Regions from separate parts of the Homo sapiens genome. Here regions 1 and 2 are each linked to region 3. The links are contacts of gene promoters, found by promoter capture Hi-C in blood cells and fetal thymus (Javierre and others, 2016). All regions are on one chromosome and are shown on one strand. Each heading gives the region's core, a stretch centred on a gene start or on the middle of the fragment in contact. The rest is flanking DNA. Distances are from core to core; before and after follow the strand shown. Region 1 overlaps OSBPL10 (oxysterol binding protein like 10). Region 2 overlaps OSBPL10 (oxysterol binding protein like 10). Region 3 holds the start of OSBPL10 (oxysterol binding protein like 10).

Region 1 (4,473 bases), core at 755-3,254, 210 kb before region 3:
ATATGGCCGTCTCTTATTTCTCTCTATCCCCTGGTCTCTATGGTCGCTGGTTTTCACACCTTTCTCTCCTCTTCTTGCTCAACTCAACTTCCTCCACTTGCAACAAAGCCCAGCAGAGCCGCTGGAGCCAAATCTACCCAATCCTCTAGTTTCTTCTCCTAATTCAGATGAGAGAAAGTGAGTTTACGTTATTGGCTCTGGGTCACATGCCTGCCTGAGCCCACTCAGCTGACACTGGAGATGTGGAAAACAGTGGCCATGTGACACACCATGTGGACACAGATCCCCCACTTCAACATAGGGTCTTCCCTCTGCCCACTGCTCTGTGATGTTTGGCCCAATGTAGTTTTTTTGTTTTTTTGTTTTTTTTTGTTTTTTTTTTGAGACACGGTCTCACTTCATCACCACCCAAGCTAGAGTGCAGTGGCACAATCATTGCTCATTGCAGACTCAACCTCCAGGACTCAGATGATCCTCTGAGCTCAGCTTCCCAAGTAGCTGGGAGTATAGGCTCACACCATGACACCCAGATAATTTTTATTTTGGTAGAGATGGGGTCTCATTATGTTGCCCAGGCTGGTCTTGAACTCCTAGCCTCAAGCAATCTTCCTCCTCAGCCCCTCAAATTGCTGGGATTACAGGTATGAGCCACTGTGCTGGCCCCAGTGTAGAATTCTGACATTCATGAGCTATAAGGATACATACTATTTACAAATACTTTTAAAACTCACTTCACAAGATTTGTAGGTCAACTGGAACATCAGTTAAGGCTTTTATCCAAGACAATTAATCAAATAATGGAGCATTTCTCTAAACTTAATGCTGGCATGACATGAATGCCAGGTTACAAAGCTTCCTGTCAGAGGGCCTGAAAGTGTACTAACTTCTTATAAATGCCTGTGATAAACACCCAGCTGTAACCAAGCCCAGAACACCCCACCTCCTCTTTCTTTCATTTGCAGTACAATCTCATAATGAAAAGCCAATAGAATCTGCCAGGTTATAGAGGAGATTAAAAAGAGATGAGGGCTCAATCCACAGTCCTCTCTAAGCTTAGCCTTTCCCTGGTGATTCCTAAGTCTAGAAAACAACCCAATTAGCTACGTTATACTACTTTTTCATATCAGGTCTGGAGGGCTATACTTTCATTAACTTTGTGGAAATTAAAATTACCACTGAGGAGCTCTGGATTTTGCTACAATATTAGCCAATTCTCTCTTTCAAGAGCCCTCTTGTGTTTTGCTCATGCAGTTGTGATTAAAACAGTTCCCTCTGTTCATGGGAATAAGTTCTTCTCCCACGACCATCACTAAGCCAGTGAGAAAAAAACTCAACTGTGGTCCCTGCAATAACCACTTGGAAAGTACAGGATCTAAAAAATATAATTGTGTGTAATTCTCACAAACGGTGGCTTTGTATCTTGTCCCTGCCTCCTCATAAATACACTACCTACTTGGGCAACATGACACCTCTTGAATTCCTGTCAGGTTACATCTGCCTAGAAAGCTTTTCCTCCCCATCTCTCATGGTCAAAGTCCTACCAGGCTTCCAATGCCCTTCCTCAGTTCTTCATGAAGCCTTCCTTATCTCCCACTTAGAAGTCCCCGTGCCCCAAGTCTCTCAGAGCCCTCCCGTGAGCACTTGCCCTTCTCTTCTGTAAGGCCTTGAGGTCTGGGGAGCAGGCCCATGTCCCCACTCCCATAGCACCTGGCTAGTGCAAGGTGACCCTAATTAAGTGTTAAATGAACCACTGAATGCACCCTTCAGGCTCTGGGTCTAGCCTCAGACTTCAGATTTGTTTCTTCCAGGTGAAAATGCTCTGCTTCAGTTATCACAATTGTGTCAGTAGTCGGGGCTGTCACAAGGCGAACCTCAAAATTTGGGTTCAGCCTGGGAGGTCACATGGGTCGTTGGCTTCATGTAGAAAGGAATTCAAAAGCCAGCCTACAGAGTAAAGTAAAAGCAAGTTTATTAAGAAAGTAAAGGAGTAAAGGATACTCGATAGAGCAGCCCTGAGGACTACTGGTTGGCTATTTTTATGGTTATTTCTTGATCGTGCGCTAAAAAAGAGACAGATTGTTCATGAGTTTTCCGGGAAAGGGGTGGGGAATTCCCAGAACTGAGGGTTCCTCCTCCTTTTAGGCCATATAGGGTAGTTTCCAGACATTGCCATGGTATTTGTAAACTGTCATGGCGCTGGTGGGAGTGTCTCTTAGCATGTTAATGCATTATAATTAGCATATGACCAGTAGTGAGGACCACGAGAGGTCACGTTCATGGCCCCCTTGGTTTTGGTAGGCATCTCTTTTTATCAGGGGAGGTTTTTGCGACCCATACCTTGCAAAACCAGTCCTACCAAACTCCTATCTCAGGGCTGCCCAATTTTTGGCTAATCTGACCATTTATAGAAGGAAAATGCATTTTCTCCTTCAGTTCAGAAAATAATTAGAAATTGTCTCCCTTTAGACTTATCTGTGTACTATTAATTCACCACCTTTAAACGAAGCTTTTAGAAAATGTGTAATATTAGTACTCTTGCAGATATTTTTTCAGATTTCCCAGATGTAAAATAAACACATGTAATTCTTTCCACACTACAACATAAATACATATTTCACTCCAGGGATAAATTGGCCTATGTTCATGTAAATTTAGTAGCAATAAAAGGTAACCGGCAGCCTGAGGAAATGCTCACTGGCTCCCTTCCTAGGCTTCTGACTGTATACTTCACCCTCTGTGCCACCCCAACGCATCAGGAACCCAAACCTACATACACCTCTAAACAAGGCAATTCCTCTAGTTAAAACAATAATATTGCTTCGAATTGAAATATATGCTAGATTTTAATCAAGCTCCATTTATTTCACAAACAATTTCCTCAGCATTCACATTGGGTAGGTATTACCCCTTAAAGGGTCTTAGAGCTCTGAAAAGTTAATCTGAAGAACAATGACCATTTTTGCCCATTCCATTGCTGCCCCCTGCTGACAAAAGAATGGACACCTTTGGCAGACACTGCACTTTCCTGAGAAGACGGCAGCCGCGGAAAAATAAGCCAACTGAACTACTGAGTGCCAAGCCCCATGGAAAATAAGAAAGGGGCCCTTAAGAAGTGGTACCCAAATGGTCTTAAGAATGAACAGAGGAGACAAAACATGCAAGCATGAAATAATCAAAGAACAGACGGCTGGGCACGGTGGCTCAAGCCTGTAATCCCAGCACTTTGGGAGGCCGAGGCGGGCAGATCACCTGAGGTCGAGAGTTTGAGACCAGCCTGACCAACATGGAGAAACCCCGTCTCTACTAAAAAACACAAAAAATTAGCCAGGTGTGGTGGTGCACACCTGTAATCCCAGCTACTCTGGATGCTGAATCAGCAGAATTGTTTGAACCCGGGAGACAGAGGTTGCAGTGAGCCGAGATCACGCCACTGCACTCCAGCCTGGGCAACAAGAGCAAAACTCCATCTCAAAAAAAAAAAAACAAAAAAAAAACAAAAAAAAACAGAATAAAAATATATTTTATTAAAAATATATTTTTATATTATAACTCATTATAAAAATATATTTTATTAAAAATATATTTTTATATTATAACTCATTATAAAAATATATTTTATTAAAAATATATTTTTATATTATAACTCATTATAAAAATATATGAGTTAGACTGTAGCTGTGCAGACTACAGGATTTGGGAAAAGGAGAGGCAGATGAAGATGGAGACGCCATATAGGCTGTCAGTTCCCAACCTTTTCACCACTAAGGAACCCCACCTCACCCACTTCTTGCTTTCAGTTATTTGTCTACATAAGAAAACCAGATTTCCCAGCAAATGCTCACTTAACTCCAGCCAAGAGCAAAGAAACAGATAACTGCTTGATTGTAGGTATTTTTAAATGGTGAAAATAGTTCATGGATCCCCTAAGAAGGTTCTGAAATCTATGGACCCTGCAATGCCATCTCAATGGGTTTTTCAAGGGGTTTGGGAATATCCACAAAATATATTTGATGACAAGGTTCTGCCTGTACCTAGAAGCATTTTCCTCCTAAGGAAAGAGTCCTTGACTTTCATTAGATTCTCAAAGAAACTTGTGGTCAAAGATAAAGCAATCAATAAAAAAACCAAAACTTGTAGTCTCAGGGATGTCAGGCAAGGGACTACTGATACAGATAAAGAGAAAAGGTGCAGGGAGCATTTTCCCATTTCTGTCCTGAGAGGCTAATGTTCAGGTTTAAACTGAATTTTAAAATGCCTATTTTTCCTTTCCTCTGGAAAAAAGTTGGGGGACGGGGGTTATACCAACTCTACAATGCTGTTAATGCCATATCATTCCCCATCAACAATTTCAAAGATTAAAAAATAATCGACCCAAATAGCCCATTTCTTAAGCATTTATCCTGTGTGGTCTGTTCTCCTTGATGAACAGGTCATCTCTGTTTGTAAAGCTGGTTTGAGAAACAGGAGTCCATT
Region 2 (4,972 bases), core at 2,149-4,648, 190 kb before region 3:
TTCTACTTGTATTTATTATAAAGAAATAATCACAATCATAAATATGCATGTACAAGTTATGACACAACAGTGTTATTTACAATTGCAAAACCACTTAAATGACAATAGCAAAAATGGGTTTGTTTTTTGTTTTTTGAGACAAGGTCTCGCTTTGTCACCCAGGCTGGAGTACAGTGGTGCGTTCTTAGCTCACTGCAACCTCCACCTCCCGGGTTCAAATGATTCTCTCACCTCAGCCTCCCCAGTAACCGGGATTACAGGCATGCACCACCATGCACAGCTGATTTTTATATTTTTAGCAGAGATGGGGTTCCACCACGTTGGCCAGGCTGGTCCTGAACTCCTAGCCCCAAGTGATTCGCCCATCTTGGCCTCCCAAAGTGTTAATCTGTATGACTTAATATAACTTTTTTGGGGGGGCGGGGGGGTGGGGATACAGGATCTCGCTCTGTCACCCAGGCTGGAGTGAAGTGCAGTAGTACAATAGCAGCTCACTGGAACCTCTGTCTCCCAGGTTCAAGCAATTCTCCTGCCTCAGCCTCCTGAGTAGCTGGAATTATAGGTACCTGCCAACACACTTGGTTAATTTTTGTATTTTTAGTAGAGATGGGGTTTCCCTCTATTAGCCAGGCTGGTCTTGAACTTCCGGCCTCAAGTGATCCGCCTGCCTCGGCCTCCCAAAGTGCCGGGATTACAGGCGTGAACCACCGCAGTCTTGAACCATATTTTCATTTGATGATATCAGAAAATAGCTAAAATGTAATAAATGGAAAAACAGAATATAAAACTGTATATATGACCTCAATTTTATCCAAAATAAAAATGAAAAGTGTATACATATACATAAACTAACTGTAACTGAATAAAACACGCTAACTTGAAAGAAAAGAGTATACAGCACATGGTAGGCGTGTTTGATTGGTATTTGTGGGAGGGAGACAGGGAAACAGGAAAAACCAAGATAAAATCCAGATCTGGCCAGGCAATTTTTAAATCACGAGGAAGAATTCCCAGACTGGAATCCATCTGTCTTAAAGCTGTTTCAGTAAGCCCCAAGGCCTACTTACAAGCACAACGCAATGGAAGGGGTTTTGGACTGGCAGTCAGGAGATCCAACTCCACCATTAACATCGTGGGTGACTCTGAACAAACCACCGACCTCTCTGAGCCGTTTTTTTTTCTTTTCATTCTATAAAATGAAGAGACTGAACTAGATTGCCTCGGCATGTTTCTCAGTCCTGAACATTTTCTGTTCTGGGATTCTTGTAAGGCTTATCCTCAGGTACTGCAAGTTACTAGATAATTCCTGGTCATTGACAGACAATAATCCCAAACTAAAGTCCTAGCCTTCCCTTAATAATTTTCTGAAATTCAGAGAACCTTACTCTGAGCATGGCTTTAGGATTCTGGGAGACTCAAGCTTCTGGGCATAAAATGGCCACAGTTATGATTCACTGTGATCCAGAAAGACTCCACCTCAATTGCTCATCACTGTAGGTAAAGGCAACTTGCGTAGAAGTTGGAGAGCCCAAACTAGACTTTGGAATCACTCCCATGATTCTCACATGTGCCAAAGCCTGGGCAGAACCAGACAAGGATAGAGGCAAAGACCCAGGGATGCCATTATTCCCTCCTTTTCAGTGAGCCACCTTCTAATATTCTTTTTCCTTTTTTCCACTGGGTTCTTGGGTTTTCCTTTACCAATTTTAGGAGACCCTTATAGAACGGGGAAATTGGTCTCTCATCTATGTGATGAGTTGTAACTTTGCCCCCAGGTTGACTTTGCTTATGGCATATTTTTGGCCATGAAGCTTTCATTTTTATGAAGTCAAATTTATACTTCTCTTTTTTGTTGTTTTTGGCTTAAGATTTTTTGAGTCACGTTTTAAAAAGCCTTCTCCATCCTGAGACATCTCAGTCCACTTGGGCTGCTATAAACCTACGACTGGGTAATTTATAGACAGTAGAAATTTACTTTCTCAGTCTGGAGGCTGGGAAGTCCAAGATCAAGGTGCCTGTAGGTTCTGTGTCTGGTGAGGGCCCATTTCTCATATGGCACCTTCTTGCTGTGTCCTCACATGACAGACAGAAGGGGAAGAGTTCCCTGCAGCCCTTTTACAAGGCATTGCTGATGGTAGAGACCTCATGGCCTAATCACCTCCAAAGAGCCCTACCTCTTAACGCTGTTGCCCTGGAGATTAAAGTTTCACCATGAATTGTGGTGGGGACACAAACACTCAAACCATAGCACAGGTGAAAATATATATATATTGTATGATTTAAGCACTTTAAAAGTTTTGGTTTTGGTTTTCTTAAGTCTTTGTTCCATTTAGAATACATCATGGCACACTTCTCAGGTAACTCTCAGTTACTACGAGCTAGACTTTTGTAGATATGAGCAGCATGGGCCAGACCAGCAGCAGCAGCTTTTTAATCTGGCAGACACAGATCTGAACCAGCGCACCTCCTTATTAGATGCAATTTCAGGCAAATGATTTAAGAACTCCTTAGTCTTCAATTTCCAAAAGTAGAGAGAACATTATCTGTTTGCCAGGTTGTTCTGGAATTAAATAAGACAACTATGAAAAAGTATTCTGCACAATGCCTGGCATAGAATAAGCGGTCACGATATGGTTGTTGCCTCCTTACTTCTTCATGTCCCTTAGTTTGTTTGCATTTTGAATGATTTACTACTTCTCGAAGGATACACAAATATCACAAGGAATTCGGTTTGCCAATATTCATTCTTTTAAAGTCCTAAAAATTAGGCTTCAGGGGTATTTGTGGATTGATTTAACTACAAAAGGTCTGGTCCTTTTAGTCATATATAATGGATTCGAAAGACATGATAGGCTGGGCATGGTGGCTCATGCCTGTAATCGCAGCAGGGAGGCCAAGGCGGGCAGATCACCTGAGGTCAGGAGTTCCAGACCAGCCTGGCCAATATGGTGAAACCTTATCTCTACTAAAACTACTAAAATTAGCCAGGCATGGAGGCGGGTCCCTGTAGTCCCAGCTACTTGGGAGGCTGAGGCAGGAGAATCGCTTGAACCCGGGAGCTGGAGGTTGCAGTGAGCCGAGATTGCGCCACTGCACTCCAGCCTGGACGACAGAGCAAGACTCCGCCTCAAAAAAAAAAAAAAAAGACATGATAATAACCTAATCAATATGTCCTTTGGGAAGGATTAGCCAGCCGGTTCAGCCACACCAACCCTGTTGATCAGCAAGACAGCAGATCAAAGACAGACCACTCAGTCCTAGATTGGTTCACAGTCTACATGCTTCACATCATGTTTTGCTAAGAAATTTGAAATCTACATGCCTTCTAGGTGCAGTTCAGAATAATTTCCAAAATAAGGATTTTAAATGGCAAATGGCATAAATACCCGACAACAGAATGAGTATTTAAATAAATTATAAGGAATTTGGTATTTTTAAGTAAATATATAAATGGAATATAGTTACTTTAAAATGCACAAACAGAATATAAATGGAAACATATATTAAGTAAAAAAGAAAGTATTCTGCCCATCACAAATGTAATAAATGAATAATATTTACACAAATTGACAAAGATGAGAAAATGTTGCTAATACTTCCCAAAGGACATATTGATTAGGTTATTGTTTTTTTTCTCCCAGAAAAGGTGACTCTGGAATAAATTTTAAAGCTGTCTAGAGATAAGCCTGTATCTAGATTTCAGAGATGTCAGCAATCTGACCCTGGCAGGGTTACAAGAAATTAGTTTTCTAGAACTATCAACATGAACAGGAATACTGAAAGGAGTTACTGTGCCAAATTTTATCCTATAAAATCCTATGACATTTTGCCATAATGTCATTTAATAGAAGATAACTATTATCAGTGTGGAATAAATGTCAAAACAAGTATCAAAGAAATGATAGAAGCCTCATTTTCCTAAATTCTTAATTCCACTTAGTCCTTTTCCTGATTCCATCTGCTGGTGACAGGTAAGCATATAATTCTTGATCTTGTTTTACAAATTTGGTGGTGGGTGGGATAGGAAAGTTGGAAGAAAGAAGCCTGGAAGACTAAAAATCACAGGTAATCCAAAATGCATACTATATTTAATCAGTAACTTTGCCCCTTTTCTCTAACATTCAAGGAAGCCAAAAGAAAAAACTCCCATTTAAAAATGGCTGTATGGTAGGTGTGGTGGTGTACACCTGTAGTTCCAGCTACTTAGGAGGCCGATGCAGGAGGATCACTTGAGCCCAGGAGTTCAAGGTTGCATTGAGCTATGATGCCACCTGTGCACTCCAGCCTGGGCAACAAAGTGAGACCTTGCCTCTAAAAAAAAATAATAATAAAAATAAATTGGCTTTATGGAATTATTAAAACATTATATAGACATTGTAGGAAATTTGGAAAATACAGAAGGCATGAGGAAGAAAAAATAAAACTCACCTACAATTTCATTAATCCAGAGAAAATCATGAACATTTTAGTATACTTCCTTCCTGGATGTTTCTTTCTTTTTTTTTTTGGTTTTGTTTTGTTTTTTGTTTTTGAGACGGAGTCTCACTCTGTCACCCAGGCTGGAGTGCGGTGGCGCGATCTTGGCTCACTGCAACCTCTGCCTCCCAGGTTCAAGAGATTCTCCTGCCTCAACCTCCTAAGTCACAGCGATTACAGGCGCATGCCACCACGCCCAGCTAATTATTGTATGTTTAGTAGAGAGGGGTTTCACCATGTTGGTCATGCTGGGATTACAGGTGTGAGCCACCATGTCCGGCTAGGATGTTTATTTCATACATATATTTAATGAAATATTTTCTTCCATATCCTGTAGATTCTGTGGTCTGAAAACTCTTCACGCACAGATTCAATGAAAGGCACTCTAGGGTGGCAGGGGTAGGTGACACTACCAAGGGGTCTTTCTTCAGGTCCTTGAGTCCATCATGAAAGAGTAGTCTAGTCAGCCTTTGTTGGAAAAGAAAACAGATGCTGA
Region 3 (4,568 bases), core at 166-2,665:
GTGTCCATAACTAGGCTTCTCAACTGCAAGGGGGAAGTGAGCAGGAAACTTCAAATGGGACCTGAAGAGGAAATAATGATAATAATGTAAATTGCTACTAATATTAAAAGGGGGAGGGTATTTTTTCTTTCTTTTTATTATTTTATTTTATTTTATTTTATTTATTTATTTTTTTTGAGTCGGAGTCTCGCACTGTCGCCCCGGCTAGATTGCAATGGCGCGATCTCGGCTCACTGCAACCTCTGCCTCCGGGGTTCAAGCGATTCTCCTGCCTCAGCCTCCGGAGTAGCTGGAATTACAGGCGCGCCGCCACGCCCGGCTAATTTTTTTTGTTTTTAGTAGAGACGGGTTTTCACCATGTTGGCGAGGCTGGTCTCGAACTCCTGACTTCGTGATCTGCCCGCCTCGGCCTCCCAAAGTACTGGGATTACAGAGGTGAGCCACCGCGCCCGGCCTCTTTCTGTTTTTAAACAAAACTTCCATTACAAACATCGGAGGCTGCAAGGCACAAACTGGGGCAGGAGTATGCACAGTCGCCCAGGATGACAAGTGGCAGGTTTTTTGTTGATGGTGGTGGTGTTCTGAAACACCAAACTTTAAAATGAACTGTTACTTAGAGAATTACTGTAATCGGAGCGGACGTGCTAACGCTTTTTCACCCCGGCACAAAGCACGCCCCTTCTGCCTCCCTTTCCCAGTCATTCTTCAGGCGTGCGGGAAACCGCGGACAAGCAGAGCACGGGGACCAGCACGATCCTCCTGCCACCACTCCAGTCTCTGCAGGTGCCAGCATAGAAGAAAACCAGGGCTCTCGCCTCCCTCCCCGCCACTGCGGTGCGGTCCCGGGGTGGAGCCACGGCGCGCCCCATCCTGAGAACCCCACCTGGAGGGGAGCAGGGACGCAGGAAGGGCACCGTTGGGAGGCATCACTGGGTTCGCTGAAGGCACAATCGCGCGCGCACACACATACACAGACACACATACACACACGCACGCACACACACACACACACACACAGCGGCGCGCGGTGGCGCGGGCGGCTGGCGCGTTACCTGTTCTGCCAGCCCTGGAGGAGGTTGGTGTATTTGCTGAGCACGCCCTCGAGCGCCGGCTCCCTCCTGCGGCCGCCTCCCCCGGACGGGCTAGCGGCCACAGAGCCCGGGCTGCTGCGGCTTCCCCCGCCGCCGAGCCCGGCCGCCGCCGACCGGCTGGAGACCCCCCGGCCCGCCAGAGAGCAGGAGGGCGAGGAGCCCGCCGAGGTAGCACGGCTGCTGCTGCGGCTGCTGCTGTTGCTACCCCCGCCGCCGTCTGTGCCCTGGACTGCCCTCTCCATGGTCCGTGGGCGCCCGGGACGCGGGTGCCCGCCGCGGTGGCGGCCCCGGCACGGCGGCTGCTGCTGCTGCTACAGCTCCGGACGCCCGGGCCGCGCGTGCCTGCTCCAAATCCCCGGGAAATGCCTGACTCATACAGGAGGAAGAGGAGGAGGAGGCGAAGGAGAGCTGGGAAGGAAGCCAACGGGGCTGGATGCAGCTGCGGCCGCCCCTCCTCCCGCCGCGGCCAGGGCCCGGCCCCTCCCTCCGCACTAGTTTCCCGGGCAAGTTCGGAGCGGGTGGCCGGCTAGGCGAGCCCTCTTCGGGTTCCTCCTTCTCTTCCTTCGTGTCCCTGCGGCCTCTCAGGCCCTCGGGACACTCTAGGAGGCCGATCTGCAGGGTGGGCACGCCCTAAATCCACGCCAAGTCACCCACGCATTCCTTCTGCCACCCTCTCTTGGATCCGAAGGGGCGAAAGGGAATCTCTGCACGTCACTCCCCACCCCTTATCCACCTCGGGACCTGGAGGGAGGGGCAGCCCCACCCACCCGGTCCACCCGGATATGGACCCGCCCGGCCTGACAGGCTCACACGCACACTCCCTCTCTCGGTCTTCCGCACACGATGCTGCGCCAGACGCTCCTACACAGTAACCTGGAAATTATCACCGGCGGAGCAAAGTCACAGCTCAGGGAGGCCCTCCGCGTTGTCTGGCGGAGGAGGGGAGTGGCAGGTGATCCTCACAGGTAAGCTCGCCGGGCATTTTCATGCAGCAGGATTATGATAAATGCTTAACAGACACACGGCTGGGCTGGGGTGAGGCGCGCGAACTCTCAGGTTTGTGCGAGTGCTTCCTTAAATTGAGTGTCCTAGGTCACTCACTGGCCTAACCCTAATCCCCTGCCCTGAATGGCACGCATAAACCTGGCAAGTCAAAACCTATCCATTGCTACCACACTGCACGTGCACCTAGGAGCAGAGGCTCTGAAACCGGGAAAACTGCTCCAGAGGCAAGGGAAATTAACAGATATTTACAAACATTGAAGGATTCTCTGTGTTGGCTGTAACTTCTGCGCCCCTCTTCCTACCTAAAGATACTCTTTCTATCCCACTAATATTTTTTGTGAATATAGATATCCATTGTAATCTGAAGTATCAAAAATTACCTAGAAAAAAGCTTTGAGGAACTCAGACTCTCTCTCTCACACACACACAGACAAAACAAAAGGTGATAGATGATAGGTGATCTCCGTCCAAAGGATCTACAAACCCATCAAGCAGATAAATACTTCAAGAGTTAAAAAAAATTACTAAATGGAAAAGTCAGCTCTCAAAGGGACAGTTCCCCGAGCCCAACCCCTTTCTAGCTTCACATCCTTCCAGGAAGATTTCATGGGTGGTTTAGCTCTAGAGATGCACGGAGAAGCTTCTGGAGTTGAAGAGAAGTGGTTGTGCCCCTGAGTAAATTACAATTCCAGGTGCCTACATAGTGTTAAAAAAAAAAAAATCTGAAAAGAGCTTGCCTGGACCAAATTTGAAGCCATTCAGAGCTGAATTCTAACCTATGACCTTGATCAAATTACCTCTTTTAGCCTTAGTTTTCTCACTGCAAAATGGGACAAATGATACCGGCTGTAATAAACTATGCAAGAATGTTCATTTGTTCAAAATATTTACTGCCGCTTCCTATGGAAAGAGTATCCTTCCTCCACATGGACCTTAGGCTTGGCCATGGAATTGCTTTGAGCAATGGAATGTGAACAGAAGTAATGAATGCCCCTTCCAAACATAAGCTTTAAGAGCAGTCATATGGTTCCACCATCTTTCTCTTTTCCTTATCCCAGGAGAGCAGCATGTCCCGGATAAGGACTCTCCTTAAGCTTGTGTCCTGGAGTGAGAAGGTGTGGAATACAGCAGATCCTAAGCCAGTTAGTGTTGGCCATGTAACATGCACAAAATGTTTGTTTGAAGCCATTGAGATTTTAGCATTATTTTTTACCACAGCATAGCTTTGCCTAAGCTAACTTACTGATCATATATGAGTGTTCATTGAGTCCTGCATTGACATACAGACTGAAGGTGGGAAGGTAGGTGCATACTGGACTATAAATGTCAGCATTATGTACCAAAACAACATGCCTTTTATTGGAGACTGCCACCTTAAGCTCCTGCTAAAAGAGGAGAAGTGTCATTTTATTTCATATTACCTAACCTATGCCACCATTACTCCACCTTATGCAGCCAACCTAAGACTGAATGAGCTAGCACAACAAATTCTCACCTTGGACTAAAAAATTAGACCCTTGAGATAGACCAGTTCAAGTGGGGAAGGAACTAAGCTAAAAGGAATAGTCAAGGCCAGGATGGGGCAGGAGCAAGCCAGCCGTATGGGATCAAAAATGTCCAAGAGGTGAGTGGAGCAGATGTGCTGAAAGTAGAGGCTATATCATGAAAGAGTGATGAAGCACATGCTGTTCCTCCTGCTGGTGACACTGTTCCCTGCTCTCTTCACCCGGTTTGTGTTTCTCACCCATGGAGTTATGGATTACAAGTCACTTCTTCCAGAAAGCTTTCCTTGACCTACCGTAGTATAGCAAATAGGGAAAAGGTACCTGCAGAATTATGTTTGGAGAGGAAAAAGTCTTTATGTTTGAAAAACAATTTGGAAAATACATAATAAGTTGGCAAAAAGTATTTGAAATACATACTGTAATGCCCAACAGTTTCATCTTGCTTGTTACCCGGAAAAGCCAATGCAGGTTTTTGCAATAGAGGAAGAGTTTAACAATTGTAGGGCCAGCCAAGCTGGAGCACAGGAGTGTATTATTACTCAAATCAATCTCCCTGAAAATTCAGAGCCTAAGGGGTTTTTTTTGTTTTTGTTTTTGTTTTTGTTTTGAGACTGGAGTCTCGCTCTGTCACCCAGGCTGGAGTGTAGTGGCACGACCTCAGCTCACTGCAAGCCCTGCCTCCCGGGTTCACGTCATTCTCCTGCCTCACAGCTTCCCCAGTAGCTGGGACTACAGGCACCTGCCACCATGCCCAGCTAATTTTTTTGTATTTTTAGTAGAGATGGGATTTCACTGTGTTCACCAGGATGGTCTCGATCTCGTGACCTCGTGATCCGCCCACCTCGGCCTCCCAAAGTGCTGGGATTACAGGCGTGAGCCACCGTACCGGGCCCACCTAAGGTTTTTTTTTTTTTAAGGATAGTTTGGTGGGCAGAGGGCTAAGGATGGGGAAGCTGATAGATTGGGT

Evidence for each region. The method cuts DNA at HindIII sites, captures the fragments that hold promoters and counts their contacts. A CHiCAGO score of 5 or more calls a contact.
Region 1: a contact is called between a fragment that was not itself captured here and the fragment with the promoter of OSBPL10 in region 3, in 1 of 17 cell types (endothelial precursors). The highest score is 6.3, in endothelial precursors.
Region 2: a contact is called between a fragment that was not itself captured here and the fragment with the promoter of OSBPL10 in region 3, in 1 of 17 cell types (endothelial precursors). The highest score is 6.5, in endothelial precursors.

Annotation. Positions count from the first base shown.
Region 1 is chr3:31,765,976-31,770,448 of GRCh38, forward strand. All of the region lies in intron 4 of OSBPL10 (oxysterol binding protein like 10), which reads right to left. Among named protein-coding and RNA genes, the nearest start is that of OSBPL10-AS1, 64 kb to the left of the region's middle. The HindIII fragment of the contact is 1,000 bases long and covers 1,505-2,504 here.
Region 2 is chr3:31,784,466-31,789,437 of GRCh38, forward strand. The region is part of intron 4 of OSBPL10 (oxysterol binding protein like 10); the gene reads right to left. Among named protein-coding and RNA genes, the nearest start is that of OSBPL10-AS1, 83 kb to the left of the region's middle. The HindIII fragment of the contact is 3,178 bases long and covers 1,810-4,972 here.
Region 3 is chr3:31,979,847-31,984,414 of GRCh38, forward strand. It overlaps OSBPL10 (oxysterol binding protein like 10), which reads right to left and starts at 1,416. Exons shown (of 12, transcript NM_017784.5): 1 at 1,053-1,416. The coding sequence starts at 1,333. It overlaps ZNF860 (zinc finger protein 860), which reads left to right and starts at 1,904. Exons shown (of 2, transcript NM_001137674.3): 1 at 1,904-2,056. RefSeq lists a silencer at 1,106-1,175. The HindIII fragment of the contact is 3,310 bases long and covers 1-2,485 here.